2 separate regions of the Homo sapiens genome follow, and region 2 is linked to region 1. The links are contacts of gene promoters, found by promoter capture Hi-C in human tissues and cell types (Jung and others, 2019). All regions are on one chromosome and are shown on one strand. The core of a region is centred on a gene start or on the middle of the fragment in contact, and the rest is flanking DNA. Distances in the headings are between cores, read along the strand shown.

Region 1 (5,898 bases), core at 2,362-4,861:
AGGATCCAAAAATCAACCACAATTGGCCTTGGAGGAAACCTATATTTAATGTTCTAGGAAATCCTGTGAAAGTCAAAAGGATCTCTCCAGTTTCCCCATCACAATTATCTGCTTAATTCCTCTCCATTCTACTCTTGAAATATGGTTTATCTCTTAGACTAATATAAAGCAGAGTTACATTAAATCTCCCTTGGAGCAGTTAGGGCAGTTAAGCATTTAGGTTTCAAAGGAATGCAGCCAGTAAGCAAAATTAACATCAAAAGAGAAAGCCAGATGTCAAAATACTGAGTAAAATGGTGCTGTCAATAATGAAATCAGCACTGCAATATGGAGAATCCCCATGCCAATAACCTCAAGGTAAATTTGAAAATACATGTTTCAGATACAAACTTTCTCATCCCTCATCTGTGACCTATATTTTTTCCTCCCACCCACTACATCCTCTTTTATTAAAAGTAACACAAAGGGAAAACGATTTTGAAATCAAAGTGAGACTTATACACCCCAGCTGCAACTTCAACAAGATATCATCATGACTAAGCTCATATGACTCATAACTTTCCTAAATTATGCAATTCATAACAGTTCAATTGAAATCATTTTTGGTGACCCATAGAGGACTCTAAAAACCAGGCTTCATTTTATTAGGTATTTTTTGCCTTTCAGAAAAATGTTGTCATATGCCTAATCGATATTGAGTACTGCAATATAGTAGTATTTGTAGGACAATAAACATAAAAAATAAATAATAAAGCATGTTTTTCAACTATGAAACTATTTGCTAGTCTTGACCAACTCAATCTAATGGTAAGGTTAAGTAACAAATTATATTGTAAGCTGTCAAACAAACTGAAAAAAAAAGTCATTCTTCAAAAGAAAAATACCCACAAGGCCTATGTTCATCATTGACAACTGACAGCATCTTCCTGAGACTCATTTTCCTCCTCCTTTATTTGAAAACTAGACTTGATCTCTAAGATTCATTTGGTGATAACACTTGCTATAACGTACTCTAGCACTCTCCTCTATGCTGTTTTAGAAGTGTCCTAAATGAATGTCTATTTCCCTATGCTATAACCATTTGAAGATGGATATCGTCTGATCTTTGTATTTCCAATGCCACGTATAATACTTGTGTGTCCTTCAAATATTTCGTTTAAAAAAAAAAAAAGAGGCCGGGCCTGGTGGCTCAAGCCTTTAATCCCAGCACTTTGGGAGGCCGAGGTGTGCTGATCACCTGAGGTCAGGAGTTCGAGACCAGCCTGAATAACATGGAGAAACCCCATCTCTACTAAAAATACAAAAAATTAGCCGGACGTGGTGGCACATGCCTGTAATCCCAGCTACTTGGGAGGCTGAGGCAGGAGAATTGCTTGAACCCGGGAGGCGGAGGTTGTGGTGAGCTGAGATGACGCCATTGCACTCCAGCCTGGGCAACAAGAGCAAAACACTGCCTCAAAAAAAAAAAAAAAGAAAGAAAAAGAAAAGAAAAGAAAAAAGAAAAGTCTATGCATTCTTCTGGCACAGGTGGTCTGCATTTTGCAAATAAAAAACAAACACATGGGCCAGGAGCGGTGGTTCATGCCTGTAATCCCAGCACTTAGGGAGGCCCAGGTGGGCGGATCACGAGGTCAAGAGTTCTAGACCAGCCTGGCCAACATGGTGAAACCCCGTCTCTACTAGGAATACAAAAATTAGCTGGGCGTGGTGGCACATGCCTGTAATCCCAGCTACTCAGGAGGCTAAGGCAGGTGAACTGCTTGAACCCCGGGAGGCGGAGGTTGCAGTGAGCTGAGATCGCGCCACTGCACTCCAGCCTGGGCAACAGAGCAAGACTCTGTCTTGGAAAAAAAAAATGGTCTAAAAAACCTTACGATCTGCAAATGTTATGAATTGATCTAGAAAGTAATGTTTCTCTTTAAACTGTATGCTTCCTTGGGACTCATGCTTATTTTTACCTACGAACAACAGATTAATAACATAAGTGAAACAGTTGTGTCAGGGTGGTGCAAATATAATTTTAATATCTCAAAATACATATTTATTCTTTTTACTAACATTTATCCTTAAAATGAAGACCCTTACCCTATCCCTCCATCCTAACCACAATCCTACCTCAAAATGTCCTTCAATTTGTACTGACTTACCACTTCTCAGCACTTCCTAACAAGATCCCTTGCCTTTCATTAGTCACTTGTAATCCATTTCAATCGGAAAGAATCATAAGACAGCTGTTCAAGTGATAACACTCTCAACACCTTTAGTATCCATACCAATCCATTACAATTTCTGTCCACTAAATATAAAGAAAAAAAATACTACACATGGTATCATGGTGAAATTTGGGAACCAGTACAACCATGCAAGCCTACAATTTCACACACTGGGAAAACATTATTTCACACTTTATTACTAATTAAAGTATCTTACACGTCAATTTTTGAAAGATAAAAGGATTTTAAAATACACTAAAAGTTCACGCAAACTTACTTCCACCAAAGTTCAGATCCCTTAATGCATCTCCATCCTTAAAATCCAATCTCTCTGGAAAATCTAATGAAATAGGAACCCTCTACTTTCTAGCCTCTAAATTCATCAAACTCGTCACTCTTGATAATTTCTTTGTTTAAAAGTGCAAGGAAAGCATTCATAGTGGCAGCATCACGAGTTGGCTTACCAGGTTTCCGCCTCCCCCCATCTCCCAAGCACCTCCAATAAGCTACAATTGAAATAACCAAGAACGTGCTTAGGATGTTCGCAAAAACACAACTCTTAAGACTCCAACTCCAGTCTCCGCCTCCCAACGAGATTACTGCATAAGTACCTCCTACAGCAGAAATTCTAGTTCCCTCCTTCGAGGACCAGGAAGAATTCTGGAGCTTTGGGCCCTTCCTTTCTGGCTCTGGTAGGAACACACAACACTAGATTTGTTCCCTACTAAGGCAAGAACCCTGACCACATCTCCCTCTCCAAACAAGATCCAGCCACCCTACTCCTTACCGCTTTCCCAACACCCTCCCCGAACACAAAGCTAGGGAGCAAACCCCTCTCAGGCGCTCAGTCACTACATGGAGCCCGTCCAGTAGCCCTTTCCCACTCAGAGACAGGCCCATCTCCTTTATTCTTTCCCCAAACTCCGAGAGCCACACCCCCTTCTACACTGAAAACTTAGGGACGCGCCACCATCGCCAATACCCCGCCCCCAAACACCTGATAGACCCAGCTCCCCTGCTCTTCCCTCAAACGAGCGCTCCAGGCGCCGGCCTAAGCCAACTCCCCTGGGTCTTTACCGAGTCTCTGGTGGGGGCCGAAGCCCGGGTCATCCGGAGGTCGCGGCGCCAGCACGAAAGGAACCACGCTGGTCAGGAATAGGAGAGACTGCCTCATGTTCCCGGCCCCGCTACCGACTCCACCTCTCTGGGCAGCCTTCGCCTGACGGGGTTTCGGAAAACTGCTCACATCGGGGGAGGACGGGATCCGCCCGGCCTAGCCCCTCAATCCTCTTTTCCCTCCCGCGCCGCCTACTGGGAAGATTCTACCGCCAGGCTCGACGCCCCCAGAAGTGCAGGTGGCGTTACCAAAGGCCGGCTCAGCCAGCTTCCGGCCGCCGCTGTCCCCCGCACCACCCACAGCCGGAAGCCGGCTGCCGCGCGGCATCCCGGGAGGCTCCGCTTGCCCCGCCCCACGCCGGTGCGCCGCGGGCCTCTGGTCCGCTGCCGTGTTCGGCCCCGCCCGTCACGTCTAGCTGGGGCTCGCCCGGCGCCTTCCTGGACGCAGACGTATGAGTCCCAACTCCACCCAGTCCGGCCTGGCCTCTGTCCCCGGGTGACCGCGGAATGGGGGGGCGGGAGCTAGCGAGCAGGCCCTCAAGCGCGTCTGGCCGCCTCCTTTGTCTTGATGCCCACGTCTGGTTAGGACCCCTGCTGTCCATTTTATTAAAGGAGCTGTAGAAAGCGGCCTGGGGCCCAGCGACCTGCCCAGGGCGGACGAGGAGGCGCGACTGGCCCGATGCCGCAGGCTCTCTGCCCAGTGTGCTCAGGTGGGAGGGCGGGGACATGAATCGAGCCACAGAGTGCCCTGGGCACGGACCCCCCGCCCCCCCCGGCCCCGGGCCCCGAGCCCCGAGCCCCGAGCCCGGCCACCGAAGCCCGTGCCACTCGCCAGCTCCTGCGAGACGAGCCTTTCGAGCGCAGCTCAGGCATTTGGTTCAGGGTCCTACTGCCGGAGTCGTCTGAGGCCTCCATCCGTCTGTCGTCACGAAAAAGGTTTTGGGGGGACTAATAAGCACTTCCTGAATGCACATTTGCTCCACGCCCCTGCTGTAGGGAGAGGGTCTGCAGACACTTCAACAAATAGAATCCTAGGACCTTACCTGTGAGTACAAGAGCTGGAATCTTCCCACCAACTTCTTAAAATTCAATCCTATACTTGGTCCATTTAGCTTAGACTGGAAATTTCCCAAGGCAGTTTGTTTTGCAATCTTTTGCATGATTTTAGCTCTGTATAGTTTAGTGAATGTTTATGGTACTGAATAAAACAGTCTAAAAACGTTGGGTACATGTTGCTGTTTTATTTAGTTCAACCAAAGTTTATAAAAGTAGGACATAATACGTTTTCCACTTAAGAGTGAGACAGCCTTTATTATGAAACGGTAAATTGTTAGGAATACTAGTCCTATTCAAGTTTCAAGGCTTATTCCTAATAAAATACTCAAACTGTGGTTAAAATTTATGTTAATGGTGGTTTGCCGCAGTAAAATATCAGCGTCTTTTTCAACAATACATTGTTGGCTAAAATTAACCGGACCTGGTCTGTACATCTGAAGTATAAAATATCTTTATTAAACATACCCATTAGTGGCATACCTAGTCAAAAAGTAAGCAGAATTTCACATGCAAATTGTATACAATCTGTAAAAATTGTATTCCATAAGAATGTGACAGTTGAGTACGGTTTTTGGGGGGCTTTTTTGGTGTACCATAATAATGTCATCTGGTTTCTTTTCTGAACATCCAGTCACCATAATGTCCGGCTTGTAACTTTAGTAGATCGTAGATTGTATTATTTTGGTATCCCCAACAGCTCTTGTACAGTGCCTTGCTCATAGAAGGTACTTAGCTGTTTAGTAAATGCCGTTTAAAAAAAAAATCCCGATCCATTTTCTTTTCTTTTTTTTGGGGGGGGGTGGTGGGGGAAAGAGTTTCGCTCTTATTGCCCAGGCTGGAGTGCAATGGCGTGATCTTGGCCCACTACAACCGACTGAACACCTCCTAGGTTTAAGCGATTCTCCTGTCTCAGCCTCCCAAGTAACTGGGATTACAGGCGCCCGCCACCACGCCCAGCTAATTTTTGTATTTTTAGTAGAGATGGCATTTCACCACGTTGGCCAGGCTGGTCTCAAACTCCTGACCTTAGGTGATCCACCCGCCTCGGCCTCCCAAAGTGCCAGGATTATAAGCGTGAGCCACCGCGCCTGGCCTGAATAACCAGAAGTCCTAGATTTCCAGGGACATTCCAAATTTCAAGTAATCTTTTCAATTCACAAATCAGGACCCAAATTATTCCAATTTGCAGTTCATCTTTCATTTATCAATTGTGCATACTTTTAAGATAAAAGAGCACCACGTGGGGGAGATAAAGAGCCAAAGGAATATGGTAAGAGGGGCACTGGATAGATTAATTAGTTTATCTTTTTTTTTTTTTTTTTTTTTTTTTGAGACGGAGTCTTGCTCTGTTGCCAGGCTGGAGTGCAGTGGCATGATCTTGGCTCACTGCAGCTTCTGCCTCCCAGGTTCAAGGGATTCTCCTGCCTCAGCCTCCCAAGTAGGTGGGACTACAGTTGTGCGCCACCATGCCCAGCTAATTTTTGTATTTTCAGTAGAGACAGGGTTTCACCAT
Region 2 (6,548 bases), core at 2,122-4,621, 430 kb after region 1:
GAAGGCGAAAGCCACGTCCTCCATGGCGGCCGGCGAGAGAGAATGAGAGCCAAGCAAAAGGGGAAACCCCTTATAAAACCATCAGATCTCATGGGACTTATTCACTACCACGAGAACAGTATGGGGGAAATCGCCCCCATGATTCAGTTATCTCCCACAGGGTCCCTCCCTCAACACGTGGGAGTTATGGGAGCTACAATTCAAGATGAGATTTGGGTGGGGACACAGCCAAACCATATCATCTGTCCTCACAGGGAGTTTGAGGGAAGGAAAAAGCTACTTAGTCCAACTTGGTAAGTGGTAAAAGGGAGCTGTACATAGAGTGCAGTGGACACAGCTGAGAGTGTGAGGGATTCCCTTTGGGCAGATGAGGGGATGGTGATGAGAAAGGGTGTATCCGTTGGTGCTGGATCTTTATCCATAAGGGAAATGTATGTCAGTAGACGATGGAGGAAAGGGTATTTTAAAATTCAGGGGCAGAGAAAATGAAGATCCCCAGAGTTTGGAAGTGCCTGTAAAGGAGATGTGAACGAGAATGGACATTTGGAGCTGGATTTTGGAAGGCCTTGAGAATTTGGATTCCTGCCTTCACACTGCAGAGAACCATTGAAGGCTATTAGTGGTTTTTCCTAGCTAGGCTCTTTCATTTTCCCAAGCACTGAGATGATGCTGCCTCGATGAGCACCTGTGACATCTCACTTGGTCTTATGAACTTACTCTATTTTAGTTTGAAAATCAGGTCTTTAAAAAGGAAACCAGCCGGGCATGGTGGCTCATGCCTGTAATCCCAGCACTTTGGGAGGCCGAGGCAGATGGATCACCTGAGGTCAGGAGTTTGAGACCAGCCTGGCCAACATGGTGACGCCCCGTCTCTACTAAAAATACAAAGATTAGCCATGTGTGGTGACGGGCACCTGTAATCCCAGCTACATGGGAGGCTGAGGCAGGAGAATCACTTCAACCCGGGAGGCGGAGGTTTCAGTGAGCTGAGATCGCGCCATTGCACTCCAGCCTAGGCAACAAGTGCAAAACTCCCTCTCAAAAAACAAAATTCAAAAATTAGCCAGATGTAGTGGTGCGCGCCTGTAATCCTAGCTACTCAGGAGGCTGAGGCACGAGAATCGCTTGAACCCGGGAGGTGGAGGTTGCAGTGAGCCGAGATCGCGCCACTGCATTCCAGCCTGGGCAAGACTCTCTCTCAAAAAAAAAAAAAAAAGGAAACCTTATCCAAACTGTCATAAAGTTGCTTCATATTAGTCTTAATGGATCTAAATGTTCAATCTTTTTTTTTTTTTTACTCTAAAGACAGGGTCTCACTCTGTTGCCCAGGCTGGAGTGCAGTGGCATGACACAGCTCACTGCAGCCTCTACCTCCTAGGCTCAAGCCATACTCCCGCCTTGGCCTCCCAAGTAGCTGGGACTACAGGTGCACACCACCATGCCCAGCTAATTTATTTTATTTTCTGTTTTAGAGACAGGGTCTCGCTATGTTGCCCAGGGTGGTCTCAAACTCCTGGACTCAAGCAATCCTCCCACATACAGGTGTGAGCCACTGCCTGGCCAGTGCTCAAATTTTGAAATTGTTTTATTCTACTCAGTTGAGCAAACTATATTATGAAAGTCTTATGGAAATTATTTTCAGCATTATAGCAGCAACGTTACAAAACCATGTAAAATTCTACCTAAATTTCTCAGTGGAAAAAAAAATTAAGACTAATATTTGGATGTTGGATTATTTTCTTATAGGTGAATGATAATACAGAATGAGTATTACTGTCATTGTGGTAATTTTTAAAGAGCAACAGCCTTTTTGCTAGTTCATGAAAAATACCCTGATATGTATTAAACATTTGCATCCCTTAGCTCCTAACTTCACCACTTGATGTTTTTGTAACTTTTGACTCATGGACTCCAAGTGCTTTGTTCATGCATTCTTTTCTGTGAATTAGGAGATTTAAAAATATTTCTATAATTTCTCTCCACAAATTAAATTCACTTGTTAAAGTTCACGTTCCTGACTACTCTCTTTAGACTAGACAGTTAGCAAGCTTTACTGGAATTGTGTCTTGGTTTGTGGTGTTGATAAAAGCTCGAAAGGAGTGGGTGTGTTGGGGGTTTTATAAAATTGATTCTCAGTTACTTTCCCTATACCTGCTGTGAAATGAACCTCTGATGGTGATCTGTGTTTTGAGCACACTGGGTTTGGTGGTTTGTTTTTTTTTTGTCTTTTTCCTCCTTGTTTTCTCTTTGAGGACTAACTTGGCAGACGCAGCCAGGTGTGAACAGCGCTTATGTGGCTGCCGCGGTGCTTCCTGGAAGAATCATTATAAATTCGTTCAAGATCTGATTTCTTGTTGGTTTCTGTGCTTGTGAGCATTTAGAATAAAAGTCTGTATCAGTTAATCCTTTGATTATGTAAATCATTTTATTTTGTTTTCCTCTCATTTTCAAACTGAGGTTTGAAAACCAAAAAAAAAAAAAGAATTAAATATTTTGAAACATTCTAAGTGCATAAATTCTTGGTCAGGAATGAGGAACTGTCCTTAGAAAAATGGGCTAGACATTTAAAAAGGAATCTTGTAGAGCACCTTGGCCTGTTCAGCAGTTTATGTTTGTGGTTAGTTTTTTTCTCTTCCAATAATTTGGGTGGGAATAGTAGTTGCTCATCTTTTGAGATTAATGTTCTAATTATTTGAATACAAATGTTTTCTCTCAAAATAATTGGGAAGGAAGTATGAAAACAGAAAAGGTCATCTTTTGAATTCTTAAAGTTTTATGTCAGAGATCTTCACATCTTTCTAGAGAAGGAAGGTTGTAAATCATTCAGCCTACTCCGATTCTGAAATGGGGCTTTTTAAGTGTGCGTGCATTCCTGTATGTTTTATAGAGGAGGAGTTGGATGTGTGCTCATTCATCTTACTTTTTACCTCTTTCCCATCCTCTGTAAAGATAGTGGAGTGTTTTCTGTAATCACAGTGATAATTTGTCTGCAGGATAGGAATGGTCCGAGCCTGGTTTTACCTGGATTTGGGTGAACAGCCCTGTGGTCTTGCTCACTCGGGGCTGCCCATTAGGTAGAATCCATGGGAAGTGTTAAAACTGAGGAACAAAGTGTGCCCATCTTGTTGCTCCCACTGGACCCAAGGGAGAGCTCTGGCTTGTGTTTCTACACTCGCCATATGTGTATGCCAGCAGCTTTTTAACATTAAACAAAACTGTTCAGTTGCAGACTAAAGAAGGCCACCCTCCTGACCATAAAGCTCCCCGGAAGCTGCACTTCTCCCTCAGAACTTACCTGGTCCCCTCCATGAGTGTGGGCTGGGCTGATAGGGACAGTGTGTTTCCACAGGCGAGTGACACATGGGCACAGCACACACTGGATGTCTTGCCAGGAAGTCGCTTATGCGGAAAGTGGAAATACTCAATTACAAACAGGGAAATACACCTCCTCCCTATTTACTCCATCGTGATGATGTAAGGATAAATTAATGTCCAAGCAACTTAGAGGATGGTTTAGATCACTGGTCAGCAGACGACAGCTCTGAGGCGCGGGCCAGCTAGGTGCCTGCTTATATAAATCAAGTTTTATCGAAACACGACCACACTCATATCCGTGGCTGCTTTTACACTATTACTGCAGAGTCGAGTAGTTGCATATGACCTACGGATGTGAAAATAATGTCGGGCCCTTTACAGAAAAATAGTCGCTTCTGATTTAGATAAGGGTATGAAAAGATATTTTATATATCTACATTTTATTTATTCTTAGCTATACTTACTTACTACCCAGTATGCATTTTCCTCCTTTTATTAAAAGCATGCAATAAGCATATGTTATGAGCCAGGCGTGAGACACAGAGATGATTAAGACAGGGTCTTCTCAAGGACATTGCCATTTAGTGAGGAAGACATCACATCATGCTTTGTCCTGTGGTTCAGAGTTACAACTTCAGCCTTCAGCTGAACACACAAGTTCATCCACAAATGCAAATCCCTATGAAATCAAACATAACATGAGTAATAAAAATAAGCGGGAGAGTTTAATGTGTGTGTACTTGTTTATTTTTGTGGTTAATATCTTAAGAACTCTTGAGTATTTGAGGATTTGCATGACCTTATTGAATAGCAGGGTTGAACAAAATGGCTTTAACCTAGATCTTTCTTTTGATTACATGAATATTCTTATTTGATAGGGCTATGCCTCTGTAAAAATTTTGTTTAATGTTAAAAACTTGCTGGCATACATATAAATACATATAAAAATATCTTAACTCTTTAAGGAAAGGAAACCATGTATTGGAACTTGCTTTAATAATCTCAGAGTTTTGGAGCCAAGGTAGACCTTTTGTGGATCACAGTGTATAAGCAGCTAGAAGACTAATCACGTTACCGCAGTGGTTTCTATCTTGGCCAATCACTCGAATTACTCGAATTTGGTAGGAAGCACCAAAAAAAACAGTCCCAGCATCTCAAACCCATTCCAGGACAATGAAATCAGAATCTCTGGGGTGTAGCCAGGACATCTGACATCCGTATGTTTTAAAGTCCTGCCAGGCGATTCTAATTCAGTCAGAGTTGTGAGGCACTGTTGTACAGACAGGATTCTGAAACTTTAGTGTGCATAGAATTAGCTGGAGAGCTTGTTAACCTCCCGCTTCACTCTCCCTGAGTTTTCGGATTCAGTGAGTCTGGGGTGGGCACCAGGATCTTCATTTCCAACAAGTTCCCTCGTGCTGATGCTCCTGGCATCACACTTTGAGAGCCATTGCCGTATGAGATTCTTAAGTTTTACATAAGTAGTTATTGTGATGACTTTAACTGGCAACTTACTTGGTATTTTTAAACTAATATGACTTATAAAAAGTTGATAGGTAAATGTATTACACAAAATTATTGTCACCAGTAAAAACAGTATGGATATAGGATTCATCCTTTGTCAATATAAGTATATAATCATAGACGTCCAGAGGTAGTCATCTAGAGATCCACGAACTCACCCTGCCCTTTGACAGGTAAGGACCCTTGCACTGGGTCGCAGTGCTTAGTTAGGGGCCAGCTCAAATGCTTTGATGTTCAGACCTAAGCGGCTGTGCATGTGGCTCCCCTTGTAGACTTTGGTTGAGGGTTAAACCCGGCACGTATGTCCCCTCCACACCAGCATATCCCCTTGATCATCTGTGTTCTTACCTGGGATCCTTTCCTAAGAGCAGGGGCATCGTGAGCACCGGCCCCATCTTCTCTTTGGCATCTTCGGCCCACTGTTCTTGTCTCTCATGTTCCTGGCCTGCAGTGCTTACGTTTCACAGCTTTGTCACCTTCTCCTGGGATGTTTGTGTATTTATCTAGGCAAGGTAGCATTTTTTTTTTAATGCTGAATTAGGACCATTGTCAACTTTCTTTAATACATTTAGAAAACTGCCAAGTTTGGGAAGAATTGATTTTTTAGAATAAGAGAGAAATGTATATCAGTAAGAGACTGCAAATCATCATGAATGCACACCAGCATGGGCAAAGCTGTGCCAAAGCTCCATGTTTGCCCCGATCCTGGGATTTGGCCCCTGCTCATTTCTTTTTTGAATAGAAACTTGAAACTGGGAAGCAAGGGGAGGTTAGGTTTCGGGTTGGATTACTGTGAAATCTTCTTGTAAAGGGAATATCACTTCCTGGAATCGTGAGGATGAAGTCGAACTTTCCCAGGCAGCTGTTTTTGAACTAGGAATTGAGCCACGTGGCCTAGAATGACAGAAAAAATTCGGATTTTCCATTGGTTGTAAATTGAAAAATATATGGTGGTTTGGTTACTTTGCTTAGTTGTTTGCATGGACTTTTTTTTTTTTTAAACCTGAATGCATTCCACAGACTCTCCTTACCTCTGATTTGTGGATTTAGAGATTGTACTTGAAGTGTTTAAAAAAAAAAATGTGGCCGGGAGTGGTGACTCACACCTGTAATCTGAGCACTTTGGGAGGCCGAGGTGGGCGGATCATGAGGTCAGGAGTTCGAGACCAGCCTGGCCAATATAGTGAAACCCTGTCTCTACTAAAAATACAAAATTAGCCAGGTGTGGTGGTGCAAGCCTGTAATCCTGGCTACCCAGGAGGCTGGGGCAGGAGAATCGCTTGAACCCGGGAGGCGGAGGTTGCAGGGTTGCTGTGAGCCGAGATTGCGCCATTGCACTCCAGCCTGGGCAACAAGAGCAAAACTTCATCTCAAAAAAAAAAAGTTACTATAGCTGCCCCCCAACCCCATTATAACTTAAATTTTTCCCCATCTGCCCTAGTTCAGCCAGTGACACCCAGTGCTGCTTGTGGTGGACCCATTCTTGGCTGTTGACCCAGGGGCTAGAAGGAATCTTCCCCTGTCAGCTCACGGGGTTGAAGGGTCTGAAATGGGCCAGTCTTAGTTTTAAAAACTGTAATTCCAATAATGTCCACTATGTGGTGCACATGCATCCGCAGTAAATTCTAAAACTAGTTGAAAGGGAGCTCAAAAACATTTTTAAAATCCACAGTGATAAAAATAGTGGGGAAATGGCACATGTTTATTTG

What was found. Contacts are between HindIII fragments. The study calls those that stand out against the background at their distance.
Region 2: a contact is called between a fragment that was not itself captured here and the fragment with the promoter of ADAM17 in region 1, in 1 of the 25 tissues and cell types used here (IMR-90 fibroblasts).

Annotation. Positions count from the first base shown.
Region 1 is chr2:9,552,219-9,558,116 of GRCh38, forward strand. ADAM17 (ADAM metallopeptidase domain 17) reads right to left here and starts at 3,612. Exons shown (of 19, transcript NM_003183.6): 1 at 3,291-3,612. The coding sequence starts at 3,387. RefSeq lists silencers at 2,622-2,916, 3,531-3,820, 4,051-4,270, 4,242-4,536. The HindIII fragment of the contact is 13,894 bases long and covers 1-5,898 here.
Region 2 is chr2:9,977,952-9,984,499 of GRCh38, forward strand. All of the region lies in intron 8 of GRHL1 (grainyhead like transcription factor 1), which reads left to right. Among named protein-coding and RNA genes, the nearest start is that of GRHL1, 30 kb to the left of the region's middle. The HindIII fragment of the contact is 8,161 bases long and covers 1-6,548 here.